3 separate regions of the Homo sapiens genome follow, and all the other regions are linked to region 2. Evidence: promoter capture Hi-C in human tissues and cell types (Jung and others, 2019). All regions are on one chromosome and are shown on one strand. The core of a region is centred on a gene start or on the middle of the fragment in contact, and the rest is flanking DNA. Distances in the headings are between cores, read along the strand shown. Region 1 has its middle 32 kb from the start of RRAGC. Region 2 holds the start of GNL2 (G protein nucleolar 2). Region 3 has its middle 38 kb from the start of CSF3R.

Region 1 (3,120 bases), core at 125-2,624, 1.2 Mb before region 2:
GTGTGTGTGTGACTTTACACACCTAGAATGAACAGATTGTTTATGTCAAAACGTACTATTAAATTAAACAAGAGAAACTAGGAAATATGCTTATTATGTATAATAGAGAAAGTTAATTTTTTTTTTTTGAGATGGAGTTTCACTCTCATTGCCCAGGCTAGAGTGCAATGGCACGATCTCAGCTCACTGCAACCTCCACCTCCCGGGTTCAAGTGATTTTTTTGCCTCAGCCTCCCAAGTAGCTGGGATTACAGGCACCCGCCACCATGCCTGGCTAATTTTTTGTATTTTTAGTAGAGACGGGGTTTCACCATGCTGGCCAGGCTGGTCTCAAACTCCTGACCTCATGATCCACCCACCTTGGCCTCCCAAAGTGCTGGGATTACAGGCATGAGCCACTGCGCCCAGCCTGAAAGTTAATATTTTTTATACAATTTTACAAATCAGTAAAAAATACATTCTAAAACAAAATGAGGGAAAGATATTAGTGTGTGACACGAAGTAGAAGAGGCCAAAACCATGAAAACCCATAAAACCTCACTAATAATAGAAGAAATGAACACTAAAATAATAAGCTTCCCTTTCTCTTTATCAAATGGGTATTTTTTTCAAAGGATGATATTCAATGTTGATAAGAATACAAGAACGGGATCTTTCATACATGTTTTAGCCATCAATTTTAGGATGTTCTTAAATAGATTGATTCTTGTACTTTAAAATAATATAGATTCGAAACATCTCATTACTTTTTTAAAACCATATTAACAGTGTTTTCCAATTTTTCTACAGTGAATGAATATGTATCCTTTTTATAATTAACAATATACATATATGCATTTTTAAAAATCCTTTAAAAATTGAAGGGGATAGGAGGAGGAGGTGTTTATTGGTTTTAATATGTCGTAGAAAATGGTCTTAGACTGAGAGCAGGGACCCGAGTTTATTGACTGCAGTCTGCAAAGTATCCAAGTGCCATCTTGTGCACTCTCACCTGGCCTGGCTGCAGCTCTCCGTCAGAGCCTGATCAGCTCTTCCAGTCCTCTGAGCGTGGTCTGTGCAGTTTCTGTTGTTGTTTTATTACGTGTCTATAGTGGTTCTTAACCATAGTTGCACACTAGAACCACTTGGGGTGAGTATAAAAAAAAATAGTGATACCAGGCCCATCCCAAACTATAGCCATGTGCCGCTTAGTGACAGGGATACATTCGGAGAAATGTGATGTTAGGCAATTTCAGCACTGTGTGAACATCACAGGATGTGCTTGCACAAACCGAAATGGTACAGCTTCCTACATACCTAGGCTATAGGGGGTAGCCTATTGCTCCTAGGCTACAAACCTGTACAGCATGTTACTTACTGAATACTGTAGGCAATTACAACACAATGGTTAAGTATTTGCGTATCTAAACATAGAAAAGGTACAGTAAAAATAAAATCATATGGTACCACTGTAGTATGTGTGGTCCATGGTTGAGCAAATTGTCATTATGTGGTGCATGATTATAAGTAAATAAGGCTGTTCCCATGTGGCTTAATGTCAGTTAGTGTTGAGAACCACCAGCTTCTAGGCTGGATCAAACTACCTCTAGCTACTCTGTGTGCCTACGCCTAGGTCATGTGACATATTGCAGGCTTGTTCAATTGACTTAAATAGGTTTGGTTTCTCAGCTCCTCAAGCACGAAGAATTATTTTTGCTGCTGCTTTTTGTGTGTGTGTGTGCTAACCCAAAGTGTCAAAGAGAGACACACAAGAGGTGAAGAGGTGGCAGATGTATAGCTGTTTGTCAGTACATTGTTCTTCTTTCTTCTAAATTCCTGGGTTGTGACAGCTCAAAGTATCTGTGGTTAGTACAAATTTAAATTTAGTTATTGTTAAAATTTCAAAGCCAAATGAATTTTGATTCATTGGTTAAACAGAGAAATATGTTGCATTACACTATCTGACAGAAGCAATAATTAGTCACCATAGGTTATAGTATTTAACCATCCCTGGCACTCTGTAGGTACCCAATAAATAGAGGAATGAATGAATGAATGAATGAATGACAAAATGGAAATTGGGACAGGACAGCATCTCTCACTTTATACTTGCCTCTTATAGGGGTCTCTAGCTACTTCAACTACTTTCCATTCTACCTTTCACCACTAAAATTTTATTTGAGACTTAGATTGAATATCACTGTTTTGGTGATGCTCTATTCAAAACAACTTCCAAGTATGAAATAATCTTCAAAGTAAACCAGTTTATGGGCTGGGACAATGTTCAACCACTGTCACTGCAGAAATTGGGCACCTGTAGATGGTCTGTCACTTCCTCACAGTGGCTTAATGCGAGCATTTACTCTCATATAAAGTCCCCTCTTTCTTTCTCCTCTGACTGCAGACCCTAAAACACAGGTATGAGCCTAACCTCACTTCTCCTGTTGCATCTGCTCTGGAGGCAGGCATGGTTCTGTGAAAGCAAATGTCACTGCAGCAGCCATAATTTAAGAAGTCCTTTTAAAAAATTCCAATTTCATCATTTCACAGAAGAATAGATCAATATTTCTACAGTTAAGAGTTTAGTTAAAAACCCTGCTGTGCAATGAAATAATGCATCTGCTATTGGCGTAGAGCGACTGGGATGTTAATTCCCTGGTTTTGTGTCAGTTAAGGGCAAATTAGCCTTCCAGCACCAGTCATGACTCATTATGTCATTATGTAGAAGGCACTTACTGTACCTCCACTACTATGCAATTTAGATCCAATAAAAATTGTGACAGCGTTTTTATCCACTTCATTAAGCTACTAATTTCTTGTAAAAAATGTACATTAATCTTTTTATAGCTTCATGCAGAGTGGCATATTTTTAGACTCTAACATTGATTAGGTCCTGGTTAAGAATAATTTTCACAGTACTTTTAAGAAATGTAAATAAAGTTACAATAATTTAATTTTTCAACATAGTTATGACAGTATTGATCTTAAAATGAACATGTTGGCTGAATTAAATGTGTAGCCCAAATGAAATACAGACTGAATATTTAAACATGCAACAAATTACAAAGCACGGCTTAACAATACCCTGCAAACAGAATGAAGAAAGGGAGCATGAACCTTCATGGAAAATATCAATTGCTC
Region 2 (3,444 bases), core at 24-2,523:
TCTCAAAAAACAAAAACAAAAACAAACAAACAAAAAATAAATTGTAAAAAGAGAGAGGGCTTCTTGGTTCAAACACTGGCATCTAGACACTTTATTCTGGCTAGTAGAAACAGAAATCACTGGGTCTTAATGCCTTCCTTCATCCTCAAGGCAAGAGACATTCCCATCTACTCATTCTTTCACTTAATGAATATTTTTTGAGTCCTTTGTTTCAGATGCTATTCAAGTCTTAAAGACACAGCAGTGAACAAATTAACAAGGTCCCTGCTTTTAAGAATCTTACATTCTAGTTTGGGGGAAGCAGCCAATAAACTTGTAAAAAAAATTCAACTAGTGATAAATGCCATGAAATAAATAAAACAGAATACTGTAACAGAATAACTGTGAAAGGGTGAAAGGTGGCTGATTTAGACAAATTAGACAGGAATGAGTTCTCACAGCAGGAAGGGTCACCAGATAAAATACAGAACGTACAGTTACATTTGAATTTCAGGCAAACGATGAATACTTTTTTAGTCTAAGTATTTTCCAGGCACTGTTGGAGGTGTACTAAAGAAAAGTATTCATTTTTTTTCTCTGAAATTCTAATTTAATTTGGTGTCCTGTATTTCTATTTGCTAATTCTTGCAGGCCTACCAATAGGTGATATTTGAGCTTAGGATTGAATGACAGCTATGCAAAGATTCTGGGAAAGAGTGATTCAGGCAGAGAGAATATCCAGTGTAAATGTCAGAATAACCAGAGGGAGGGACGTACACATGAGATTAGATAAATAGGCAGGCAGGGGCCAGATCACAGAATCCTGTAGGGATGGCAAAAAGTTTGAATCAATCTCTGTCTCTGTCTGTTTCTCCCTTCTCCCTTCCCCTACCTCTCATTCTAAGAGTGATGATAAGCCACTGGAGTTGTAAGGAAGAGAATGACACCTCCTAACGGATATTTGGCTGCTGTGTGGTCGGCAACTTTTGGAAGGACTTAGAAGACAAATTCAGAAGACAAACTTAAGCTTGTGCCACTGGCCTGGGAAGAAGCTTCTTTATTCGGAGGTGGACCCAACTGGGAGCTCTGGCCGCGCGTTCAGGTTAACTAGGCGGTTGCTATGAACGGGCAGCTTGGCGGTTGCTAGGGCTGGAGCGGGCTGGGGCTCCACGCAGGGCGACGCCTAGGCGGCTGGAGCGGGGGCGGAGCCAGGAGGGTGACGGCGCGCGCCGCGCGTTCACAGGAAGTCGCTCTGAGGCCGAGAGGGACGCGAGCGGAAGTGACGTACGTCGTGCACACGTGGTCCGGCGTGGTTCAGGCGGGTGTCTTCGGCCGGGCTTGGGAACATAAAAGTTTGTTTCACCACGTAAGCCGGACCTCGCACTCCGGTCCCGGTCTCGTCGCCAAGATGGTGAAGCCCAAGTACAAAGGACGGAGCACCATCAACCCGTCCAAGGCCAGCACAAACCCAGGTACAGGCGGCAGGGCTGATCGAGGGTGGAGCTTGGAGGAAGTATAGGGAAGGGCTCCGAGGAGCACTGGAGGGGAAGGAGGGTTACTCGAGTGGCATTGCTTAGAATGACTACGAGCGGGGTGGCTGTTGGGGATGAAAAGGGAAAAAGGAAAGCAATATTTGTGGTGGTTTCTTCTCAGGGGGGAACTGAGGAGGGCTCAGTGCACGCCTGGCAGGCCAAAGTGTAGTCAACTGGTCTGAAGTCAAGGAAAGTGAACACTCAGGCTGACAGCCTTGGGTCCTCTCCAGTTGAGAGATGCAGAGAAAGTCAGATTAAAAATGGTGTAGGTTGACCCTTCGGGCCTTTTACACGTGATCATACTTGCCTGCCACCTTAGCTTTGACCTTTAAAATGAGAAAGGGCTTATAGTTTTGGCCCTTGGAATTATTCTATCTGGTAAAGTGCTTAGAGAACCCTACAAAGAAGTCAGTATGATCATTGCAGTAAGGCTGTTTAGGAGATGTGTGTAAGTTTTGGCGAGGTTCCACCTGTACGATTAACAAGACATCCTATGGGAGAGTTCCTTCCATTCAGGTTTAATTAATAAAACTTTGTTTTAAAATATGGTTTAGAATTTTTGACAATTTTAATGCAAGTTGAATGTTTATTCCGGATTGATAATAAATTATTCACTTTGCACAAACTGGAATCTCAGAATGTTAGACCCCAAAAGGCCCTTAGAGATTATGATTTTACAGGTGAAGAGACTGAATCAAAATACAGGAAGTGGCCTGTCATAATTGCAACAGTTAGTGAGTAGTAGTAGAGCCGCCAGTTTCTACTGTTAGAGACTGTTAGGAGAGCCAATGGGCTGTGGTTTCAGCCTGTCTTCTACTGTATCACTTCAGGACCAGACAGGTGATTTAAGGGGCTCCTGGCCAGGTGTGGTGGCTCACGCCTGTAATCCCAGCACTTTGGGAGGCCGAGGCGGTCGGATCACCCGAGGTCAGGAGTTCAAGACCAGCCTGACCAACATGATGAAACCCCCTCTCTACAAAAATACAAAGATTAGCCGGGCATGATGGCGGATGCCCGTAATCCCAGCTACTCGGGAGGCTGAGGTGGAAGAATTGCATGAACCGGGGAGGTGGAGGTTGTAGTGAGCTGAGATCGCGACACTGCACTCCAGCCTGGGTGACAGAGCACGACTCTGTCTCAAAAAAAAGATAATAATAATGAATAAATGAATAAATAGGTAAATAAAGGGCTCCCAAAATGAGAAGCTAGGCTAGTATTACCCTATTCGTTTGTCCTTCTCTTTCTCTTTGAGATGTAAGGCAAGAATTGCTGTGTTGATTAAACAAAAATCAAACATTAAGAAAGTAAGAACACATATATCAAAATTATAGTCTCCATGGTGCCTTGCATGGAGCAGGCACTCAATATTTGTTAAACTGAGACACAGAGGTAGGTATCTTCGTGGTTAAGACCATAGATGGTGATCAAATGCTCATGTACAAATTCTGGCTCTGCCATTTAGTAACGGTTTGACCTTGGGCAAGGTGTCTGACCACTGTGCCTCAGTTTCTCACTCCGCAGCATGGGGATAATATATCTATAGGATTATTGTATAGATTAAATCAGATGATGCCTATAATTTGGATAACACAGTGCCATCATAAGTGCTCAAAAATATTAGCTATTCTTCTCAAATACAATCCTATCGAAGATCAAAGATTGGGTCAGCTTTGTCATACCATGTAGCTTCAAGTACTAATTATTGGAGCAACATATGGAGAAAGTAGAGATTTTTGTGGTTGGTGGCTTCTTACCTAATTTGGGTGAACTACTTGTTGCATTTTAAGCAATGACTTGTTGGTTATACTGGTTGGTTATCAAATAGTGCACTGTGTACTTCTGCCTTTTGTAGATCGAGTGCAGGGAGCAGGAGGCCAAAACATGAGGGACCGGGCCACCATCCGGCGCCTGAATATGTATAGGCAAAAGGAGC
Region 3 (3,468 bases), core at 285-2,784, 1.1 Mb after region 2:
CCTCCCCTGCCTGTGCACATGTGCACACACACACACACTTCAACCTCTGGCTCTAAGAACAAGTGGACACCCAAAAAGATAAAGGGGTGAAACAAAGATACCAAAGTGTCCCCCATGCAGCTGGCAGACCCAGAGAGGACCCTGGCACTCACTGCCACCACCAGGAGACCTGGCAGAGGTGGTGTTTGGCTCCATGGGTGCTGGAAGCAGGCCGGGCACTGAGCAAGCACTTTCCACGGCACGCCACACCCTCTGTGCAGGGCCATGGTAGCCTGCCCTGCTATTTGGGGAGAATTTAACAAGGCACCCCTGGCCTAACTATTAGAATGAGGTGCCACCTGGGAGGGCACATGGCTTAACGAGCAGAAGGCACTTTTGTGATTGAAAAAAAAAGAAAAAAGTGTCCTGTCAGCCCCTAACCAGAGCCCTAAGCAGTGCCCTGACTTTGTGGAAGCTGTTACTACCTCCCTGAGATCATGGCTAATGAAGTTAGCAGGTGTGGGATTTGAACCCAGGTCTCCAGAGCTAAGGCTCATGCAGACAGCTCTGCAACCTCCAAATCTGCAGCCAGATATGCATGCATGAGTGTGCGATACACGCATAAACCAAGCGGAGGGTGCTCAGGGGCTCGGGCCTCACAGGGAGACTCGGCCCTCTCTTGAGCGGTCTCCCAATCTTAGGAGAAACATCCCCACTCAAGGGAGCCCCGGAGAGGAAGGCAGAACTCTGCCCTCTGGAGACCCAGTCTGAGGGGGGAGACAGGGCCCTGTCCTGAGAAAGCCCAGTCTGAGGGGGGAGACAGGGCCCTGTCCTGAGAGAGCCCAGTCTGAGGGAGGAGACAGGACCCTGTCGTGAGAGAGCCCAGTCTGAGGGAGGAGACAGGACCCTGTCCTGAGAGAGCCCAGTCTGAGGGGGAAGACAGGACCCTGTCCTGAGAGAGCCCAGTCTGAGGGAGGAGACAGGACCCTGTCCTGAGAGAGCCGGGTCTGAGGGGGGAGACAGGACCCCGTCCTGAGAGAGCCCAGTCTGAGAAGGGAGACAGGTCCCTGTCCTGAGAGAGCCCAGTCTGAGGGAGGAGACATGGCCCTGTCCTGAGAGAGCCCAGTCTGAGAGGGGAGACAGGGCCCTTTCCTAAGAGAGCCCAGTCTGAGGGAGGAGACAGGGCCCTGTCCTGAGAGAGCCCAGTCTGAGGAGGGAGACAGGGCCCTTTCCTGAGAGAGTCCAGTCTGAGAGGGGAGACAGGGCCCTTTCCTGAGAGATCCCAGTCTGAGGGAGGAGACAGGGCCCTGTCCTGAGACAGCCCAGTCTGAGGGGGGAGACAGGGCCCTTTCCTGAGAGAGTCCAGTCTGAGAGGGGAGACAGGGCCCTTTCCTGAGAGATCCCAGTCTGAGGGAGGAGACAGGGCCCTGTCCTGAGACAGCCCAGTCTGAGGGGGGAGACAGGACCCTGTCCTGAGAGAGCCCAGTCTGAGTGCATATGACGGGGATGGGACACAGCCCTACTCTGGGCACTCCACCTGAAGAGAGCGATGAGACAATGGTGAAGGGATGGAGCCCTGCCAGGTCCCCTCTGCCCTTCACTCCTCACAGGCTGTGGAAGCCGGTTCTCCCGAGTCTTCCAGGCTGTGGTCAGGATGAGTGTCTTCAGCCCCAGGGTCTCACAAGGGAGAGCCAGGCAGAGAGGCAGGAGCCAGCACGGGGCTGTCACTCAGCCACACAGCTCCCCAGGGAACACTTTACAGCTTCACCTATTCTGCGTCGCCTGCTTGACGGAGCATCCAAAGCAATTCCAGGACTGTATTTCATTGTCACATTTATTTGCAAGGGGTGTCAGTCAGGCCCCAGAAGCCAGCGGCCCTGCTGCTCCTTGCATTTTGTCACATGTAAACACACATAGGCCCACACTCACTGGCACCCACCTTCAGGTACACCTCGAAACACACAGAGGACACCCAGAAACACAGAGTCATTGCACACATCATGGACATGCCAACTTGGGGTCTGTGAATCAGGGCTACCACATTGCACAATTCCAGGGGGCACCATTCATATATCACTGTTATATATATGGTCATTTATATGCACACAGCATGGTTCAGAGTGTCCCTTGTGCACGCGCACAGACACAAACACACACACACACAGAAGCACACCCTCAGTCACAAACAGATTCCTAGAGAGCCACAGGCCTCAAGCTAAGGGCACCACAACCAGGTTCTTCCCAGGCAGGCTGGCGGGAGACCCACCACACTCCCAGCCTCCTGGAGCCCGTAAGATCAGGAGACAGGAGCAGGAAAAGACTGGGGAGTTCTCAGAAGCCCCTCTCCACACCCCATAAGTTTCTGGAACTGAGAAGGCCCTGCTACCCACCCCCTAACACACATACACACACAGACACGGAGCAGGAACCTCTCCAGCCTCTGAGTGGAAGCCGAACCATTAGCACTAATTACCACCCTTGTTGGGAAAGGGATTTAATTAACTCTCCGCTGGGGCTCGGAGGGGAGCCAGGGACCAAGGCAGGCCTGCTGAGGCTGGGCCTCTTCCTCCATCCTGTGGCTTTTCAGGTTTGGGGGAAGAGCCTTGGGAGAGGGGGTGGGAGGCGGTCACAGGTCTGTACATCTGAATATGTCCTGACACCCATCACACACATTCCAATTATGCATGCATGTGCACAGACACACCTGGAAGTAGCCACACACCTGTGACCCCACACTTAAAAACTGATGATGGGCTGGGGCACAGTGGCTCACGCCTGTAATCCCAGCACTTCAGGGGGCCGAGGCGGGCGAATCACATGAGGTCAGGAGTTCGTGAACAGCCTGGCCAATATGGTGAAACACCGTCTCTACTAAAAGTACAAAAATTAGCCGGGTGTGGGGATGCACGCCTATAGTCCCAGCTACTCGGGAGACTGAGGCAGGAGAATCGCTTGAACCTGGGAGGCAGAGGTTGCAGATAGCCAAGACTGCACCACTGCACTCCAGCTTGGGAGACAGAGTGAGACCCTATTTCAAAAAAAAAAAACAGATGATGGATGGACGGGCCGACAGATGGATGAACATGAGTGGGTAGGTGGGTAATGAAGGTGTGGATACATGAAACTACAGCCAAGTACACGCAGGACACTTGCAGCTGTGTACCACACACAGTCCAGCCCAGGGACACGCATTAGACGTGTTCACATCTTCCTATGTGCACATTCTCGCCCTCTCCCTGCCTTCTTCCTTTTCTCTTTCCAGTGAAGAAAAGCTTTATAGAGTCGTGGTTGAGAACTGAACTCTGGAATTCAACTACTTGGATTTGAATGGTTGAAATTTCCCAGCTATGTGAACTTGGGCATGTTTCTGAAGCTTTCTGTACCTAAGCTTCTTCAGCTACAAGGAGAAGATGGTACCTAAATACAGGGTTTGTGTGAGGAATAAAAGAGATGAAAAGTCCTTAGAAGACATGGGAAGTACTTGGAAGA

What was found. The method cuts DNA at HindIII sites, captures the fragments that hold promoters and counts their contacts. A contact is called where the count stands out against the background at its distance.
Region 1: a contact is called between a fragment that was not itself captured here and the fragment with the promoter of GNL2 in region 2, in 1 of the 25 tissues and cell types used here (liver).
Region 3: a fragment that was not itself captured here is called in contact with the fragment with the promoter of GNL2 in region 2 in 1 of the 25 tissues and cell types used here (heart left ventricle).

The regions. Positions count from the first base shown.
Region 1 is chr1:38,826,018-38,829,137 of GRCh38, reverse strand. No RefSeq gene overlaps it. Among named protein-coding and RNA genes, the nearest start is that of RRAGC, 32 kb to the left of the region's middle. The HindIII fragment of the contact is 5,006 bases long and covers 1-3,120 here.
Region 2 is chr1:37,593,766-37,597,209 of GRCh38, reverse strand. GNL2 (G protein nucleolar 2) reads left to right here and starts at 1,273. Exons shown (of 16, transcript NM_013285.3): 1 at 1,273-1,451; 2 at 3,364-3,444. The coding sequence starts at 1,388. RefSeq lists enhancers at 1,355-1,544, 1,715-1,774. The HindIII fragment of the contact is 8,299 bases long and covers 224-3,444 here.
Region 3 is chr1:36,519,430-36,522,897 of GRCh38, reverse strand. No RefSeq gene overlaps it. Among named protein-coding and RNA genes, the nearest start is that of CSF3R, 38 kb to the right of the region's middle. The HindIII fragment of the contact is 7,915 bases long and covers 1-3,468 here.